Linked DNA regions of Homo sapiens: regions 2, 3 and 4 are each linked to region 1. The links are contacts of gene promoters, found by promoter capture Hi-C in human tissues and cell types (Jung and others, 2019). All regions are on one chromosome and are shown on one strand. Each heading gives the region's core, a stretch centred on a gene start or on the middle of the fragment in contact. The rest is flanking DNA. Distances are from core to core; before and after follow the strand shown. Region 1 holds the start of COL4A1 (collagen type IV alpha 1 chain). Region 2 overlaps RAB20 (RAB20, member RAS oncogene family). Region 3 overlaps COL4A1 (collagen type IV alpha 1 chain). Region 4 overlaps COL4A1 (collagen type IV alpha 1 chain).

Region 1 (5,205 bases), core at 2,690-5,189:
GTTTTCTGGGTCAGTTCCTAAAGGCACTCCTGACTAGAATCAGTCATCCATGCCGCAACTTTCCAAACATCCCCTGCCTGCCTACCTGCCACCTCCGAGAAAAGGGACAGGACCACATACTGGGGCCTCAGTTGGAGCTGGGAGCTCTTTTTTAACACTGGTCTCCTAAACCCTGCCCTTCCAATTCTTTCCACCCCTCTGAGAGCAAAGTTCAGCCACCAAGATTGTTAATCACAGAAACAATGACATTTTGGTATCTCAAAGGAGCAAACTTGAAGGTCATCTTTCAGTGCAAAGACCCTTAGACTTGAGAGCAGACAGGCAGAATGACCATGTCTTCTGTGTATAGTACACCATCACAGTGCACATGGAAATGACATGCTGGTGTATAGTTCCTATTTCTCCCTCATATTTCAGAGGCGGAAGCCCCTCCCAGAAGTTTCCTCTGAGTTCCCCAAAGCTGGATTCAGTGTTCCTATAGCCCTTCGATTCCCCTGATTGTGACATTTACCAGCCTGACTTGGATTCGTCTGTTTCTTTTCCAATATTTCTCACCTGACCTTCCTGAGGACAGAGAGTGGGGGTGAGTCCCTGCCGCATGGCCAGCACCTGGCAAGGTCATGGCAGGAAGGAGGTGTTCCCGATGTGTGTGTGGAATGAAGGAAGGCACAAACGGGTCCGTGTGAGGAAGGGACAGACCTGCCAGGGAAACTGAGGTATAGAGTTTGATGAGTACCCCCAAATCATCTGCTTAAAAGCAGGTATAAAATGTAAGGTCCTCTGGTGCCTAAAGCACACTCATCCTGTGTACACGTGACTATTAATAATATATAGCATTGATAATTCTGTGAATCTAGTCAGAGTACATGAACATTGTGTCTTCTGGTTGGTCTTAAAGTTATGTCCCTTCACCCTAGTCCAATTCCATCTATTAATATAAAGAGCTTGCAGATATAAGGAATAGCTTCACCAATATCACTCCTGAGATCCTGGGCGATGCTGCTCTTGTTGGGACTGATTCAGAAACCAGCCTTCTCTTCTAAACTACATTTCCAGTAGAACATGGTCCATACTTATATGGGAATGAAATCTCACTTAGTTTGAACTCTAGGTCATTCAGTCCCAGAGGTGGTGACTAATGGTCAGGAGATGACAGTATTGCTGGACAAGCATCACCACACTGAGGGGAAAGTTCACGTTTCTAATCCTGAGAAATAATCTGTTAAGAAGCATCACACAGAACCAGCTAGAGGGGAGTGTGAAAGCTGCTGCAGGAAGGGTTCATTCCGCCCAGTGCAACTGAGTGACTAAGAGTAGAGGGTGCTCACAATCAGAACACTGCTGGCACGTGTTTGTCTGGAGCCTGCAAGCTATTCCTCCTTTCTTGCTGAAGAAAAGTGGAGGAAGGGAGGAGCGGGGAGTAGAGTGGTAGGTTCAGCGTGGGATAAAATCAATGGTTTAGAAAATCCACCCATGAGTACGTAAACAATATGACCATAGCAGATACAGCAAATACAAAATTAAACAGCCTTTCATGAAGAAAAAACAATAAGGGCAATTCATGCCTGGCACACAGCAGGTGATGTCTGGATGTACAAATGCAGGTGAAGTGTGATTCAGACAGTGCAAAGGAGAGGTAAGCCAACAGTCACTTCCACTGGCTTCTGAATGAGGATCTGATCAAATCCACAGCATCTTATCATTCAAAATGTGCTTTTAAATTATGTTTTGCTTGGATCAGTATTGAAGCTATTTCAGTGTTATGGTACATCTAACAGCTGATTTTGGAAGGAGGTAAGCCAAAATGTTATTGATGGCATGAAAAGTGAGACAAATTTTAAAATTAGGCAGATTCAGTTTTTAAGTGATTTTCTTGTATACCCATACATCATCTGCACATTAAGCACTTTTCTCTAATTAAGCCAGGGAAAATACAGAGTAATGATAATATCTGTGAGGTCAGCTGTGATCAGAAGTGCCCACAGGCTGCATCTCTTAAAAACAGTCCATGGCACCTCAAGGGACACTGCAAAGACAGTGGCCGGGAATGTAATTGAGCTTTAGGAAATGATTAAAGGGAAGTAAAATCATCTCCAACTCAACATTAATGCGTTTGATTTCCCGGGTGAGAACAGGATTTGCGTAACTGAGTGGTTCTTTCTTTCTACAGTCCTGGATGTTTGGAAAGCCAGCTCTTACAGTTAGCTTTCTTTGCTTTGCTAACATTATCCATCAGAAAATCGAAATGCAAACAGCTCCTATTTCCCAATGAAGAACTTTCTCTGATTTACCTTACCATCATCAGGCTTCACCATCTCACCTTGGAAGCGTTCAATCTTTTGGTCAATATTTCTAGACCAAAATAAAGTGCTCTCAAGCCTGTTCTTTGGAAAGTATTTTGTCATCATTACCAAAGAGTGTTTAAATAACTGGCTATGAAGTTTGGGGAGACTGGGCTGGGAGGTACAATCTGAAGTTAATTGCTGATGTAATCATTAGTCCTTTCAATACCCAGTGGAGAAGCTGCCTCCAGGGAGATAAGCTCTCAATTAGGAGACGTGTGTGTATATCACCAGTTCTCTCTGGCATGTAACAGTTAACAATTTCTATACAGTTAAGTGGATTTAGTGAGTATCATTCTTCCAGGAGAGAAGTAAAATTTTTTTTTAAAGAGGAAAACAAAGAACAAGATTAAGAACAGTAAAAGAATAAGTATGGAAAATCTGGTAAGTAGCAAAAATCATTTTTAAGCATTTGAGGGAGAAACTGCAAAATCTGTTCAGAAGCCACACCTTCCGGCCTGTGGGACTGCATGGCTGTGACACTGAGCAACAGCTGAAGTCTTTATTCTCTCGGAGGGGAAGGAAAAAAGGAAACAACAGTCAGTCCAGGCTTGTCCACGGCTGGAAGCCTCGACTCCTGCAAACCTCCTGCAAACCGATCTCCCAGATCCTTTCTGGGCAAGCACATAACCAAAGGAAATGAAAACTAGAAAAACAATTTGTGCATGGAACAATGACATGGAGTTTCACTTTGGTTTCATGCTCAAATATGAATGTGGTTATAATTTTTTAAAATATATATTAATAGAAGGCAACGAGTTGAGGATGGTGGCTTCTTCAAGCCGGGCGTCCAGAAGAGCCCCACTTCTGCCTTGGAGCGCGCCTTAGGCAGCAGTCGTGGGAAAGCTCAGATACAGCTGTTTCCAGGCAAAGGGCCCAGAGCTTTTCAGCCTCAGCCACCAGGGTCTCCAGACAAGGAGAAATACGCCCAAAGCTGCTCCCAGGGGCTAGGAGCTCGGAGCTCCCAGTGTGGGTCTCTGAGCAGCGCGGGGTGGGCGCTCCCGGCCCTCCAGCCCCCAACTCCCTCGCGCACCCGGGACGGGTGAAGGCGCCCAGCTGCCGAGCATACCCGCGACGCGGGTTCAAATCCCGCCGGCTCCCAGGCACCCTCACCCCGCCACAGCGCGGGCTGTTTCTCCTCCCTTCCCCGGAGGAATTCCTTAACTCTCCAGTACCCATACCATAACAAAGGAGGCTCGGTCCACCAATGCGCGATCGTAGCCTACAGGGACCCCCAACGAACCCCGGCCCAGAGAATGCACCTGGCCGTGCCACGCGCGACCCCCGAGGGGCAGGCGGACGGGTCCAGGCGCGGACAAAGGGGCCTCTCGGGGCGCCCAAGCTCGGGGCGGGACGCCGGGAGCGGAGCTGGCCGGGAACTCACCTTCGCAGCGGCCCGGCTGTGCTCCTCGTGGAGCAGAAGGGCGGCGGGCAGCAGCAGCAGCCAGACGCTGAGCCGGGGCCCCATGGTGGCGCGCCCGAGGCGGCGAGGGACGGCTGCCCGGCGTGCGGGGGCCGCGGCGGACAGCTAGCTCTCGGAAGGCCGGACTTCCAGCGCTACGCACCGTCCCGGGTGCGGCGGCTCCAAGCGGAGACCTGAGCGCGGCGGGCCGAGCTCCCCAATTTGTTGGCGCTGCCCCCTCCCCCCCGGCGGTGCGCGGGCGGCGCCTCAAAGGGGAGGACCCTGCGGCGCGGGTAAGAGGCGGCGGGAGCGCGCGGCCCGGGAGTGTGGCTGCAGTGCGCCGGGACACCAGGGCTCCGCGCTCCGCACTCAAGAGGCTCCCGCGTCCCAACCCCTCGCGCCCGCGCGTTCGCGGATCCAGGCCGAGGACCGAAAGGGGCCGCCCGAGCCCCCGGGGCCGGCGCCCAGAGAGCCCAGCAAGGCCGGCCGCCCTGCCGGTGTGCCGCCGGCGGGTGCTTCTGGAAGGGCCAATGCGTTCGGGCAGCAGCCCCTGAAGCCGAGCCCGAGGTGAGAGCGACCCCCGAGCGGCGCCCAGACCCTGGCCCGAGAGCACCGACTTGGAGCGCCTTGTGCAGGCTAGGGCTGCACGCTCTCCTGCTTGGGAGTAGAAAGGGGGAGGGTGGGAGAGCGAAGACCGAGCTCCTCGGCCAAGGAGCACCCACAGGGGCCTAACGGGAGGCTCTCCTTCTTTCCGGGTCGTGGGGGGGACGGCCCTCCGGTCACCCCTGCATGCGGGCCGCGCACCGCGCTGTCCCCGCGTCTCGCGGACCGAGACCGGCGGTGAGGATGGGCTGCCTCCCTCATCCTGCGCTAAACTCGCTTTGTCTGTCGCCTCTAGGCTAAGTGGGACTGACCGGGGCCCAGAGTGGACGAACCGCCAGCATGGGGAGAGACCAGCGCGCGGTGGCCGGCCCTGCCCTACGGCGGTAAGCGACTTTCTGCCTGGTCCCCGTGGGTCACGCGCGCATGGACCCTTCGGTGTAACTCTCGGGGACTGACAAGCCGGGCCCGCACGTTCACGTCTCTCTTCCTCCCTTTCCCATGCAGGTGGCTGCTGCTGGGGACAGTGACCGTGGGGTTCCTCGCCCAGAGCGTCTTGGCGGTAAGTCCTGGCTCCCGCGCTTGGACTTGCGCGCCCGAGAGTGGTTGGGACGTTTGAGTGGCCTTGGAGAAGGCAGCTCGTCCGTGCGCTCCCGAGTGTGTGTGTGCGTGTGGATGTTCGCCAGGCTGCCCACCAAGGTTCTGAGAAAGCTTGCTCTTCCCTCATCATGCTTTCCACCTTTCCTTCCCCTTGGGTTCCCAGCGTCAATCCTGTGTTTTGCAAGCGTCGGCCTTTCACGGGAACTGGGAACTTAAAATGTAGCCTGAGGCACCGTTTTCGTTGCTTTGGGCAAAGCTGCA
Region 2 (5,205 bases), core at 745-3,244, 240 kb after region 1:
ATCCTCATGAAGGCACCAGGGGAGCGCGGTGGGCTCACCTGATTTCTTGGTTAGGTCTGTTCTGTTCCTTTTTTATGCGGGGTCTGTCGGTGGGCACTGCTCCAATGTGAGGGGTCCAGGCTCCATCGTAGCCTCTTAACCAGCTCAGTGCCAGGAAGGGTGGACTTTGACAAAAACCCACCTCAAATCTGCACTCCCCAACCTGGAGTGCAACCTGTGGCAAGCTCCCTAGGCTCTCTGGGCCTCAGCTTCCTCATCTGCACCGAGAGGTGAGGATAACACCAAGCACACAAAGTGGATGCCGGAACAATGGACAATGCCAGAAGGCACTGAGTGTGATGTCTGGCACCCAGAAGCATGATAAATGCCTGCTGCTCTCACAGCCCAGGGCTCCAGCCAGGTAAGGGCTGGGTCCCTACAGAACCCAGAGGCCTGAACATGTGTGTGATGATTCCAAACTTCCCAGGCCAGTTTTTCATAGGACACTACCCTGACTTCCTTGCAGAACCCTAGCAGTAGGTAGCTGAGCTATTTCAGAGGCTTAAGACCAGTGTGCGGAGAGCGGTTAGGCCAGAGGGAGGAAAGACATCCGTTGCCATCAACATCTTGTGAGTCCACAAAACAAATCAGCAAATATTTACAAAATGCTTTGCTTGGAGCTACAAGCTTAGCTTGGTCTGTGTTAGAATATAAGCTACTAAAAGTTAAGTGTGTTGATTTGTATCAGCTTGGGTTAAGCAGGAAGGAATATTTCAGACAAAAGCTGAATTCTTGAATGCAGATTCATTTTGCCTGTGCCCTTTGGCATTTCCGAATTTCTAGCTTCTTCAGCCCTGAATCTGGAATCCAGGGAACTCACCACTGTGTCTTTTCATCCACGGTTCCTAGCTCATGATTCTTACAGCCATTGTTACAATCTATTGTTATAATGTTGGGTGCCTTAGGCCTCAGGAACAAAATCTTTCTCTCTGACCTTCTCCTGTCCTCCTTTCACCTGGCCCAGGCCGGACTCTAATCTGATTGTGGGTCATTAGACCCTCCTTCCAGAGAGGGTCCTGCCCCATACCCTAGAGGAAGGAATGCTGCAGAGAGGCCTGGGGAATCTGAACAGACAGGCCTTGCTGGGCTTAGACTGCACCCTTTTTATCCAATCACACTTTTTTAAATTTTTTTTTTTTTTAATTGAGATGGAGTCTTGCTCTGTTGCCCGGGCTGGAGTGCAGTGGCACAATCTCAGCTCACTGCAACCTCTGCCGCCTCCTGGGTTCGAACGACCCTCTTGCCTTAGCTTCCTGAGTAGCTGGGACTACAGGCACGCGCCACCAAGCGCAGCTAATTTTTGTATTTTTAGTAGAGACAGAGTCTCGCCATGTTGGCCGGGCTGGTCTTGAACTTCTGCCCTCAAGTGATCTACCCTCCTCGGCCTCCCACACTGCTGGGATGACAGGCCTGAGCCACCACACCCGGCCTTTCCAATCACATTTTGACATGATGCCCATGCCTCAACCACAGACAACCAATGAAGTCTCCATAAGAAGCCCAGAAAACAGGGTTCAGGGAGCTCCCAGAAAGCCGAGCACATGGAGGCCAACAGGAAGGTGAAGAAGAACTCACCCCCATGCCACAAGGGCACCCCAACTCTGTGGCACCCCAACTCCATGGACCCCAACTCTGTGGCACCCCAATTCCGTGGCACCCCTTCCAGACCTTGCTCCATGTGTCTCTTCATGCGGTTGTTCATTTGTATCCTTTGCAATATCCTGTCTAATAACTAGTAAACAAACATAAGCAACCGTTTCCCAGCAAATTAATTGAACCCAAAGAGGGGGTCGTGGGAACCCCCACCTGAAGCCGGTGGATCAGAAATTCCAGATGCCTGGAATTGCAACTAGGGGGAAGGAAGGGGTGGTCTTGTGAGACTGAGCCCTCACCCTGTGGTATGAGACGCTACCTCCGGGTAGATAGTGGCAGAATTAAACTGGAGGACACCCAGCTGGTATCCACTGCTCGCTGTGTGGGAAAAACCCTACACCTTTGCTCACAGGAGTTTCCTGTGTCAATGATGGCTGTGGCGCTGTGAGAGCAGAGGAAAAACTCGGGTTTAGAGTTTTTTCCTGAAACACATTCCCGAGGTATCTAGTGGATCTGCCTTCTCCTTGCCACCTTCCAGAGTCTTATGTTTGCTTTTAAGATAAAATCCAAGGTTTTGGGCTGTAATTAGAGGGAAGAGTAGGGGAAAATACATCTTTTCCAACTTCCCAGAAACACAGTCCTGGTATGTTAGTCTTTTTAATAGATTTGCAATGATATTGAACTCAAAAGAAATCAAGAGCTACTAAAGAAGTTTTTTAGGATACCATATAATTAATGTCCCAGACCCACAGTTCCCTACCACGCACACAATGGCCTATTGTATCACAGCACTCAGGACAATGATATTTCCACACTAATTTTATCATTCAGGGTCAATACATCGCTAAGAAAATGAAACTGCTAATGTCAGTCTGTGAATTTTCCCCACTGCTTTCAAAAGTTTCCTTCAGCAAAAACTTAGTTTCAAAAATATCACAGAGCAAAACATTACATTCTATGGAAAACTCCAAGTGAGTAAAACCCAAGGAGTTTATAAATCCAAGGAAAGAAAAAGAGATCAGAAAAACAGACAACCAGCAGTATGTACTATGGGGTGCAAGGTCACTTTGTAGCAGTTTGGTGGAAGGAGGAATTCTTCCCTCTGCTACAAAGACCAAGAAATGCTTCACTGAAAGATGGGATAAAATTCAAGCTGGGCATGGCCAGAGACGCTGTAAGCACCTGTGAGAACCGAGCAAAGACAGGGCACACAGGACGAACTGCAAATCGTACATCAGGGCTCAAGTGCCAGCAGGCAGATAAGAGGAGTGATAAGCTGGGGAGTGCTGGAGGGGCTCTGAGCAGGGAAGGTGACCAGATCCAGGAGGCCTGGCAGAAAGACCCCTCAGTGAGGTGCAGAAGAGACAGCACCAGGGAAGCCAGGGTTGAAACGAAGCTGGAACCTGCCTGGGCCAGCGTTCGCGGCCAGCTGGACCATGGAACTCTGTCGTCGCAGTGATGAATCCATTATCCTAAGAATCAACAGCTGTTTAGGCGTGTGTGTTTGTACGTGTGTGTATGTTTGTACAAAATTTATTTTTCTTGGAGAGGGATGTTATATGAAGTCTCAATACAGAAAGAAGGGCAATTTGATCTGGCATCATAAATTTTCAGCCAGGCATGGTAGCTCATGCCTGTAATCTCGGCACTTGAAGAGAACAAGCAGGGACGATATCTTGAGCCCAGGAGTTCAAGACCAGCCTGGGCAACATACTGAGACCCCTGTCTCTACAAAAAAAAAAAAAAAATACAAAAATTAGCTGGGTGTGGTGGTGCTGTAGTCCCAGCTGAGAGGTGGGAGGACTGCTTGAGCCCACGAGGTCAAAGCTGCAGTGAGCCAAGATCACAGCATTGCATTCTAGTCTGGGTGACAGAAGACGACCCTGTCTCAAAAAATAAATAAATAAATAAGACGGGCGCGGTAGCTCACGCCTGTAATCCCAACACTTTGGGAGGCCACGGTGGGTGGATTGCTTGAGGTCAGGAGTTCAAGACTCGCCTGACCAACATGGTGAAACCCTGTCTCTACTAAAAATACAAAAATTAGCCGGGCATGGTGGTGGGCACCCATAATCCCAGCTACTCGGGAAGCTGAGGCAGGAGAATCACTTGAACCCAGGAGGCAGAGGTTGCAGTGAGCCGAGATCGTGCCAGTGCACTCCAGCCTGGGCAACAGAGTGAGACTCTGTCTCAAAAAAAAAAAAAAATTAAAAATAAATAAATAGGGCCAGGCGCAGTGGCTCACGCCTGTAATCCCAGCACTTTGGGAGGCTGAGGCGGGTGGATCACAAGGTCAGGAGATCGAGACCATCCTGGCTAATATAGTGAAACCCCGTCTCTACTAAAAATACAAAAAATTAGCTGGGCGCGGTGGCGGGCGCCTGTAGTCCCAGCTACTCAGGAGGCTGAGGCAGGAGAATGGCGTGAACCCAGGAGGCGGAGCTTGCAGTGAGCCAAGACCATGCCACTGCACTCCAGCCTGGGGGACAGAGTGAGACTCCATCTCAAATAAATAAATAAATAAATAAATAAATAAATAAATAAATAAAAATTTCTATTTCTCCAGAGAGCTTAAAGATAACAAAGCATGAAATTGTCTCCCAAAGGCATTCAGTGTGACTCAGGTGCTCGTTAACAAACACAGTTGACCTTAATTAAGTTTCTCCTGAACCACAGTGCACTAAAGAGCCTGCAAGGTCCCCTGGCACCCCAGGATTCCCAGGCGCCACTCCAGGAGGCTGTGGGCCGAGCCTCCCAGCGCACACTGCTCGCAAGCGGCCACTGTGCTCTGCAATCTCCGAGTATAATGTCGCTTTGTCCACTCCTGCTGAGGCCAGGACAACCAATTAATTCTCTTTCCCCCATCTTAATACCCACATTCATATTCAGGCCACTGTTGCTGGTCAATAAAGCAGAGGGACTCTACAAATGAGGCCTTGCACCCAGAAGGCACCTGTTCGAAGTCCTCAGTAGAGGTGACCATGTGGACCCACATGTGCCTGGGGTTTTGCAGGTTGACCTTCCAGATACAAACCTTAACTGGCATTTCTTCCAAGATCTTTTGTTCAGTAGGAGCTGGTGTTCATCTTAAATCCACCCTCACTCCACTCTAGCTCAGTACACACACACAGTAGAAACTTGAGAGCTGCTTGTTGAGTTGAACTGAATCTTGGTGTCCTACAACTGCTGAATATTAAACCTTTTTAGAAGCGTCTATACCTATGGGAACAGACTTTTAGAGAAGCATTGTCTCCTTTACACAACCCAACCAGGGATCAGCAAATGTTTTCCGCAAAGGGCCAGATAGTAAATATGTTTGGCTTTCGGTGCTGTCTGGTCTCTGTTGCAATGACTCAACTCTGCCATTACAAGGTGAAAGCAGCCATAGACAATGCATTTAAGTGCATGCATGTGCATGTGGCTGTGCCAATAAAACTTTATTTACAACAACCAGCAGCAGGCCTGCGTCAGGCCCCAGATCTGTAGAAAGACCATGTGATTGACCAAATGGTCTCCAGTCACACAAACACTAATTGTCAGGCTGAGGGTCACCATATTAAGGCCTCAAAAACC
Region 3 (2,966 bases), core at 1-2,500, 160 kb before region 1:
TGAAAATACTGATACTGTGATTCAACAGAGCTGTTTTTCAAGCCAGGATGCAGAATGAGGAATACTAATGAAATGACGGCCTTTAAGGTTGTTGCTTTTGAAGTCAAGTCATTCAGTTTGTGATTAGTGTTTAAAACCCTGAAAATATTTAATACAGAATAAAAACAATAAGCTCAAAGTACATGTTTCACTATAATAGACACCATATTCATGAACCTGGGTTTGGTTTTGGCAACACATAATTTTTGGTTTAGAAGTGAACAATGAAAACGGATGTTTCACATTCAATATCCTAGTCTTTAAAAACCTATGTTAAAGGACAGCACAGTCTTTCAAAGGAAGAAAACTATGTAAGCTTTATTTTAACAGTGGAAGTTAAACTAAACCTTGATCTGCCTAATTGCTGACATCTATATAAATTACTAATATATATATATATTTAATTTTTGACTATTTTTGGACCATCTTTATTCCACAGGAAAATTGTGATTTCTGCAAAAGCAGCTGCAAAGTACCACACATAGCAGAAAGACAGAAATTTATACTGGGGGGTTGGAAGATATGGCTACTGAGTCTGTAATTCCATTTGGAGGTTCAAAAAACCATTTTTACATTGCTATTATTTGTACAGACCAAGGGACCTAAATTTTGAAACAGCTAGACAGTGATATAAACAAACATTTATCTCTGGGGGTAGAAAATTAATTATAATACAAGAATGAAAATGGGCAAACAGTATGGAAGGCACCCACACCTCCTAGCACCCTTTGGTTTTCTGATGGAGTTCTCACTTCACACATCAGTGCATTGGATTGCAGAAAATATTGATATTTTATTTCATCAAAAGTGCCATTTGGTATGCCACTATTGAAAGCTTATCGCTGTCTTTTTCTCCTTCAGCAAGTAGAGGTCAATGAAGCAGGGTGTGTTAGTTACGCAAATTCCTATAAGGCACTTTACGGTTTTCATATTGGACAGTGAGGTACACAGGATATATTTCTAGGGTTCGTTGCTGTTAACAAAAAGAAGAAGAAGTAGCACCATGTTGTGACATTAGCTGAGTCAGGCTTCATTATGTTCTTCTCATACAGACTTGGCAGCGGCTGACGTGCGTGCGCAGCTCCCCTGCCTTCAAGGTGGACGGCGTAGGCTTCCTAAAACACGACACAGAGACAGACCATTGGCCATCATCTCACAGCACGTCAGAAACATGGCACTCCTGCCCTGCTCGGAAATCTCTAAGGGATCAGCCCAGCCCCTGGCATCAGGCCTCAACCTGGTACCACCCAGTGAGCAGGCAGGTGCTGGGTGCAGTGCACACACGGTCCCACGCACACAGAACACTGCAGGTTACCAGCTGCACACCCAGGCCCTGGCACCTGCCCCAGTGCCCACAGCCCCATAGGGCACAGCTGAAGTCCCGCCACATCAGTCTGGCTCCGAAGCCTTGGCCATTCCCCTCTGTGCCACCCTGCCTCCTCGTACTACAATTTCACTTTTTTTCCATTCTCCTCCACTAGATCATAAACTCCTCCAGGGTAAGAAGAAGATATTATTCTTCTCTGCAACACTTTACACACACAGTAAGTATTCATTAAATATTTGTGGAATGATGTGATGAGTAATAAATCTGGAGTAATTCCCTAGACCTCGAAATACTTTTATAACTTTTGAAGGATTTCTATGCAGATGGTCTGCTTTGAGACCAAAAAGAGGGAAAGACATTCAATGTCCCAAGTGTTTCTCAAGCTTAGAAACTCTACATTATTTTGATTGTTGAAAAGGTAAAATCTGAACTAAAATTGTTACTGAGAAAATTCTATTAAAATAAATAAATTAATTAAACTAAATTAAAATAGCCATTTATGAGAGTGCCTCATCCTAAAATTGAGGCTGCTTATTTTATTAACTTTTGGTGCAAATTCTAGTACCCTCAAGTTTATTATTTAAATTAATGGGATCTTACCTAATTTGCTTTGGGAAAACATTTTAGTTTATTGTATCAGGCTGCTGGTTAAAAAAAAAAAACCCATCATTACCTATCAACCTTATAAGAGGACACCGCAAGGGCTGAGGCATGAACAAAGTGCGCTCATTTTGGTAGTGAATGGTTAAACTCTATCTGCAGCATGGATGTCAAGTTTCCAGTTCCTTGAAAGGCTCCAATAAACCACCAGTTAGGCACGCGGCACTTTTTGGATGAGTAACGAATTAGAGAAGCGTGTATGTTGTTCTGCCTCTTACTATCTAAGCTGGAAAGAGACAGGATCATAGCAGGGTTCCATATAATTCTCTCCAAAAAGGTGAAGATGGAAAGGCTCATCTCCAGGGGTGAGAAGCGCTTGTTTTGGAAATGAACAGTAAGCAGCTGTGCCAGCTCCGTCAGCCTCCTGCATTGGCTCCAGCGGGGCTGCAGCTGGGGCTCGGGATAGAGGGTTCATTATGCGTTCCTGGCCTTCGGGGACCGGCCCGGCTCCCAGTCAACTCCAGCAAGGTTAGTAGCCACTTGGGCCAGTCATTTTAAAGGTGAGATTTTGGTAATGGAAAAGGAAGGAAGGGTCTTCCCTCTCAGTTTCAGCTGAATTTGTGCTGAAATTAATTTTTATTTGCACAGGTCTAAAAAAATACCTTGTGAAGTCACTCAGAACTTACACAAAGTGTACATTACGATCAGTGTTATGAATGGCATGAAAATGAACGCTGCTCACTTCTTCTCCCCGGGATTGTTAAATATACTGTATTTCAAACATGCTCTGTTTGGAGATTTCAGTTGCTTTAATTACATTTTAGTACACTCACCTAGAAAAAATGGAAAATGACCTTTTTCTTTCATGGTTCTTCGGTAAATGAAAAAATTAAACCTGTGACTGAAGGTCTGCCTTTGAAAATCGTCTCGGTCATCTGCCCATGTCGAACAGCATCAAATATTCATTGCTAACCATCTTTGAGACTTTGCATTGGAAGGT
Region 4 (5,205 bases), core at 972-3,471, 140 kb before region 1:
ACTGATTCAGAAGTAAATCAGCACCACGTATTGTTTTGCACCCAGCAAGCTTAGCTATTCTGTATCCATCCTTGAGAAAGTAGTCTGATGACTCTAAGATATGTCTCTGCTGCTGATGAGCAGTTCAAAGCTTTCCCTTTAAGGGAGAACATGTGTTGACTTACAGAAGAACCCCGCTTGCTCCAACATAACTGCAGAGGTCTGTCTCAAATCCCTCCTATTCATGATCTCCCCTGATATACTCTCTCTTTCTCCTAACGTGTGTTAGAGAGAGACAGAGAGACAGACAGATGGAGACAGATAGAGGAAACAGAGAGACAGACACAGAGAATAAAGCTCTGCTAATCCAGCTATTTGAATGAGCGAGCCACGTAAACACAATCCTTTAGCCATGGACATGGTTAAGCTAAAAATCAAACCAAAGATCCATGACCACCACTAAGAAGGGCTATATATTCAGGTGCAGCAAAGAGCCAAAGTCACACACACACACACAGAAATACACAAGGCTGCTGGTCACTTATTGCACCCTGAGATGTGCTCTTCTGAAGGCTTGTCTAAGTCACCACTTAGACTCTGTATCTGGATCAGGTCAGTAAAGAAAGATGGAATATTGCTGGTTATCTTTTATGACTTGAACTGTTCAACTGCAATTCCCTGTCCTCCTGCCAGTCCTAAGAGATGGCTGGGCTAGTTTTACAGAATTGTTCTCTGCAAAACAACATTGGCTTGCTTTTTACATTGAGTTTGTAAATAGGTCTTAAATTTAGGCATTGAGCCATAATTTCCAGCAGTATAACATTTCCCTTTTATGGTTCTTGGAAAACTGGATTGTAAAAAAATGTTACAATAGTTTCCTACTCTGATGCCAATAAAGATGTGGGTTACTGGCAAGAAAGAAAGAAAGAACTGATTTAGTGGGGATGTGGGAGTGTAACACACACACACACACACACACACACACATATATATACATACACAAAATACATACACACATAGACACATATGAATACTTCTGGCCAGAAAAGACTCCTTTAAAAATAAAAATCTACAAATCAATAACTCACAGGCATGCCCTGGAATCCAGGGTCTCCCTTGGGCCCTGGGACACCGGGTGCTCCTGGCCAGCCTGGATTTCCTTTGTCACCTTTAACTCCATCAATCCCAGGAAGCCCTGGAGGCCCCATGGGTCCCGGAAGTCCTAATGGAAGAGAAGAAAGCCACACATTTGGGGTTAAATATGCACAAGTGTCCCTGGGCTGTGGGGCTATCAATACTGCCACCCACGGCCCCTCACTGATACAACACTGGACCAACAGTGACAACCCTTGAGACAGAAATCGAGGCAGGTCCAGGAAGGAAGGAAGGAGGGAGGGAGGGAGGGAATAGAAACACTACTATCTCTGATAAAACACTGGACCGACAATGTGAACCCTTGAGACAGAAATTGAGGAAGGTCTGGGAAGGAAGGAAGGGAGGGAAGGAGGGAGGAAGGAGGGGAGGGAGGAGGGGAGGGGAGGGGAAGGAGGGAGGGAGAGAGGAAGGGAGGAAAGAAGGAAGGAAGGAAGGAAGGAAGGAAGGAAGGAAGGACAGACATAGAAATGCCACTGTCTCCGTGTCCAAAATGGCCTGCGGTCAGTGGTGCCCGGGCATCTGTGCTACCACTACGGGGGTCTTCACCAGAACCCACAAGTGGGCCCAAGTGCTGCGCTGGTTTAAGTCCAACGCCACCGACGGGGCACGAGTCCAGGCTTGTCCAATCATTTCCTTTCTTGCATCTCCCTAATTACTTAAATTCCTTGACAGAAAGGATACAAGAAAAGCTTTGACTCGATGGGGGCCAAACACAATTTCAAGCTGTAATAAATGCTGCAGACTTCTAAATAAAAAAGCCCAATTGAGAATTTAACTATTTCTTTTACGCTATTTCCTTTTGTGAATTCTGTCCCAGTCCTCAGCCCTGGCCCCTGGCGAGATGCCCTTACCTGGCAGGCCAGGCTGGCCCTGAGGTCCGCGGTCTCCTTTGGGCCCCTCCGTGGCATGGCCTGGGGATCCCGGTAACCCCGGCTGTCCCTGGGGCCCCGGAGGACCCATGAATCCTTGCTCTCCTTTGGATCCAGGAATTCCTGGGCTCCCGGCTAATCCTGGGAAACCCACCTCACCCTTTGAACCTGAACAAGAAAAACAGTTTGAGGTGATGGGAAACGCAGCAGCAGAACAGTAATCTCCAGCGTGGACGGCAGAGATGGGATGAGGCGTGCCTCATCCTGTAGGTACCGCTCAGAGGGAGCTTCCAGGGACACCACAGGAAACTGCAGCAAGGGCTCCGATCCCTCCTTCTCTTTAATAACACACTAGAATCCGACCATGGCCTGGCTGGAAAAAGAGCTCAGAATGCTAGGAACCCAGCTATCGTTTTCATACTTCTCACGAGACGTGTTCTATGGCAAAGGCATCTGAATTGTGTTTAAAGACATCTGCAGCAACTGCACTGCTAAACGAAAGCCTCACTCCATCAGCACATGAATGGGCTGGACAAGCCAATCATGTTATATCCATGCAGTGGGACACTACTCAGCCATAGAAAGAAGTGAGCAACCACTGGGCTGGATCTCAAACGAATTATGTCGTGGGAGAGTAGTCAGGCTGAAAAGACTACGAAGTGTATGGTTTTATTTTTGTAAACTGCTGGAAAATGCAAACTAACCTAGAGGACCAGAAGGCAGATGGACGGTTGCTTGGGGAATGGGGAGAGGGCAGGAGGGGGGGATTATGAAGCCACGGAGGAGACTTTTGGGGGAAGGCTTTGCCTGCTATCTAGAATGTGGGGATGTTTTCATGGTGTAGACCTATGTCAGCCTTATCAAATTGTCCACTTTAAATATTTGTAGTTTATGACCTGTCAGTGAAACTTCAATAGAGCAGGTTTAAAAAATTAAAAAGTAACAGCTTGTAGGAAAAAGAAATTCTATGTTTAGTTTTAAACATAGTATCCAAATCTTACCAATAAAAATGCCAAAATTCTAAGGTTATTTCCAAAACAAAGGAAAAGGGAATGAAATAGGGTCAAGACCTAAAGTGGTCATTTGGGATTCTCTTCTCCTGGGGATTCTCCCTGCTATTTCACACAGCAATGAGTGGAAAACGCAAGGTGCTGCGTAGAGTTTGTGCAAGGGCAGTGCAGCATGTCCAAAGGAGTGTGCGGGATCACATGGCAAGGTAGGAAAGGCAGGGCAGGAACAGCCCACAGCGACCCCTTGAGCAGGTGCATTTGCAAGGGGCTCTGTGTTTGAGGGATTCTGTGAGTTAAGGGAGAGGGAAGTGTCCATTCCCAAGGCAGCCCACCCGGCACCAGGCCATCCTTCTCAACCCAGGGGTTCCCAGTGTCAGACTACATGCCTGCCAAGGAAACACTCTGGGCTGGTCTCGGGGAGAACCAGGGGGTGGGAGAAACAACACCTCCGTGCCCCTGCTCCTTCTCAGCTGAAGTCCAAGGCCTTCCAGGGCTTTCTGAATCCTCCCACTGAGTGGGATCACTCAGCCAGCCCAGCCACGGGCCATAAGCATGCCCATGGATGCTGTGTGTGAGCTCCTGGCTGCGGCCACCTGTGGCTTCTCTTCAGTGTCGTGCAGCTCACATGCCTTGTATTTTCTGTGTCCCCTTTGCTTTCCCATGAAATGCTCAGCTCTCTGAGAGAAGAGACTGCCTTCCCAAGCTCCTGGCCAACTCTCAGCTGCACTTAGTACTGAGCACATCGTGGCTGCGCAGGGCATGTTTTTGTCTCGTGGTGTGTGCTACATACTGTCCTGCATTCACATAAGTATAACCAGTTCTAGAAAGTCAGAATTTCAATATTCTGATGACCTTCTAGGCATAAAAATGACAGGGGTCTCGCCTCTCTGCTGGATTTTTACAAAATTAGTCCAAGTAAAAGATAATTCTGATCATGAGTGTACTGCACGCCATTTTGATCCATTAATTAGAAGGGAACCACATGTGTCTTGCAGGCATTGCCCTCTGGGCTCAGCACCCATCCTCCATCCCGTTGCTGCCTGGCCAACAGGCATGGGGCTTCATCCTGAAGACACTGCCCCTTGTTCTGCTAATCAGGCAGCAGCGGTTGGTTGAAAAGGAAGAGCACAGTGAGCAAAGATTACCTTTGTCTCCTTTGGCCCCTGGAAACCCTGGGAATCCTCTTCCTGGTAGACCTATAAGATGAGGGTAAAATGCCACGTTTCTCTTTACTTAAACAATCCATCTGCAGGTACAACACAAAGCACTATCAACTCTGCAATAATACTACGTATATTGTGGAGTACATAGATATTAGTTAATTGCACCCTTGTAATAAAATGATATTCCTACAGTTATAAGATACCCTTGACTGAATGTTCCTAATTTAGTACTTTTTCCTAAGTACCTTTCAGCTCAGAACCACCACGGCATTTAGCACAAATGATCTGTGCAAATGAGTATTTGTTTCCTGCTGCCGTCTGGAGATAAGCAAATGGGATTCTCAGACAACCATCCACTAATTGCTATTCTCAGGGAGGTGGGGAAAGCCAAAGAGATTTGGGGCAGCAGATGCTGGGGAGATGACAAACGTCAGCAAAGGGCTTGAGGGAAGATTCAAATCGGGGGAAAGGAGTGCAGGGGTATTTTTATGAATTGTTTGTATAGAAAAACAAATGTATAGAATATAAAGTTATGGAATGAAAAAAATGAAAAGAAAGCCAGCACCAATAGCTGTGGATGCTCTTGGTGGTCCTCCCAGTGTCCCCCCAAGTCAGGGGTAACCTGCTTCAAATGGTGTGTTTATCTCTCTCTTGCATTAAATACAAATATTACTGTGTATGTGATTGTCATCATCACACCTGCACTTTTGTCCAAGTTATGGCCAAGTTAAAGCCCACCAGTGACAGGAGCAGACTCAGGGGCCAACCAATATTTCCAACCATTTCCCCTCAAATGGGGAAATGCTGGGCAAAGAAAAGAGTTTTGTTTTGCTTTGCTTTGTTTTGTCATAGCAACCACAAGGGAAATGGAAAGTGTTCTAACAGCAGGTATTTTATGTGTCTCTGACTCACCACTGAGAGCTCAGGTTATTTCAGGGGAAGATGCCCTCAGTATTTATGGGATAATAAATACCCCTTCCCTTCTTCCCCTCCACTCATCCCACTCTACTCCACACATCCACATCAGTG

The links. The method cuts DNA at HindIII sites, captures the fragments that hold promoters and counts their contacts. A contact is called where the count stands out against the background at its distance.
Region 2: a contact is called between a fragment that was not itself captured here and the fragment with the promoter of COL4A1 in region 1, in 1 of the 25 tissues and cell types used here (mesendoderm cells).
Region 3: a fragment that was not itself captured here is called in contact with the fragment with the promoter of COL4A1 in region 1 in 2 of the 25 tissues and cell types used here (lymphoblastoid cells and spleen).
Region 4: a fragment that was not itself captured here is called in contact with the fragment with the promoter of COL4A1 in region 1 in 2 of the 25 tissues and cell types used here (aorta and mesendoderm cells).

The regions. Positions count from the first base shown.
Region 1 is chr13:110,303,218-110,308,422 of GRCh38, forward strand. COL4A1 (collagen type IV alpha 1 chain) reads right to left here and starts at 3,940. Exons shown (of 52, transcript NM_001845.6): 1 at 3,727-3,940. The coding sequence starts at 3,810. It overlaps COL4A2 (collagen type IV alpha 2 chain), which reads left to right and starts at 4,067. Exons shown (of 48, transcript NM_001846.4): 1 at 4,067-4,311; 2 at 4,643-4,730; 3 at 4,852-4,906. The coding sequence starts at 4,687. RefSeq lists enhancers at 3,696-4,529, 4,530-5,205. The HindIII fragment of the contact is 6,060 bases long and covers 1,425-5,205 here.
Region 2 is chr13:110,548,555-110,553,759 of GRCh38, forward strand. The region is part of intron 1 of RAB20 (RAB20, member RAS oncogene family); the gene reads right to left. Among named protein-coding and RNA genes, the nearest start is that of RAB20, 11 kb to the right of the region's middle. The HindIII fragment of the contact is 4,571 bases long and covers 1-4,280 here.
Region 3 is chr13:110,149,291-110,152,256 of GRCh38, forward strand. COL4A1 (collagen type IV alpha 1 chain) reads right to left here. Exons shown (of 52, transcript NM_001845.6): 52 at 1-1,154. The coding sequence ends at 1,073. Among named protein-coding and RNA genes, the nearest start is that of LINC03082, 22 kb to the left of the region's middle. The HindIII fragment of the contact is 3,547 bases long and covers 1-2,966 here.
Region 4 is chr13:110,168,562-110,173,766 of GRCh38, forward strand. COL4A1 (collagen type IV alpha 1 chain) reads right to left here. Exons shown (of 52, transcript NM_001845.6): 41 at 4,159-4,209; 42 at 1,986-2,171; 43 at 1,068-1,201. Among named protein-coding and RNA genes, the nearest start is that of LINC03082, 42 kb to the left of the region's middle. The HindIII fragment of the contact is 7,651 bases long and covers 1-5,205 here.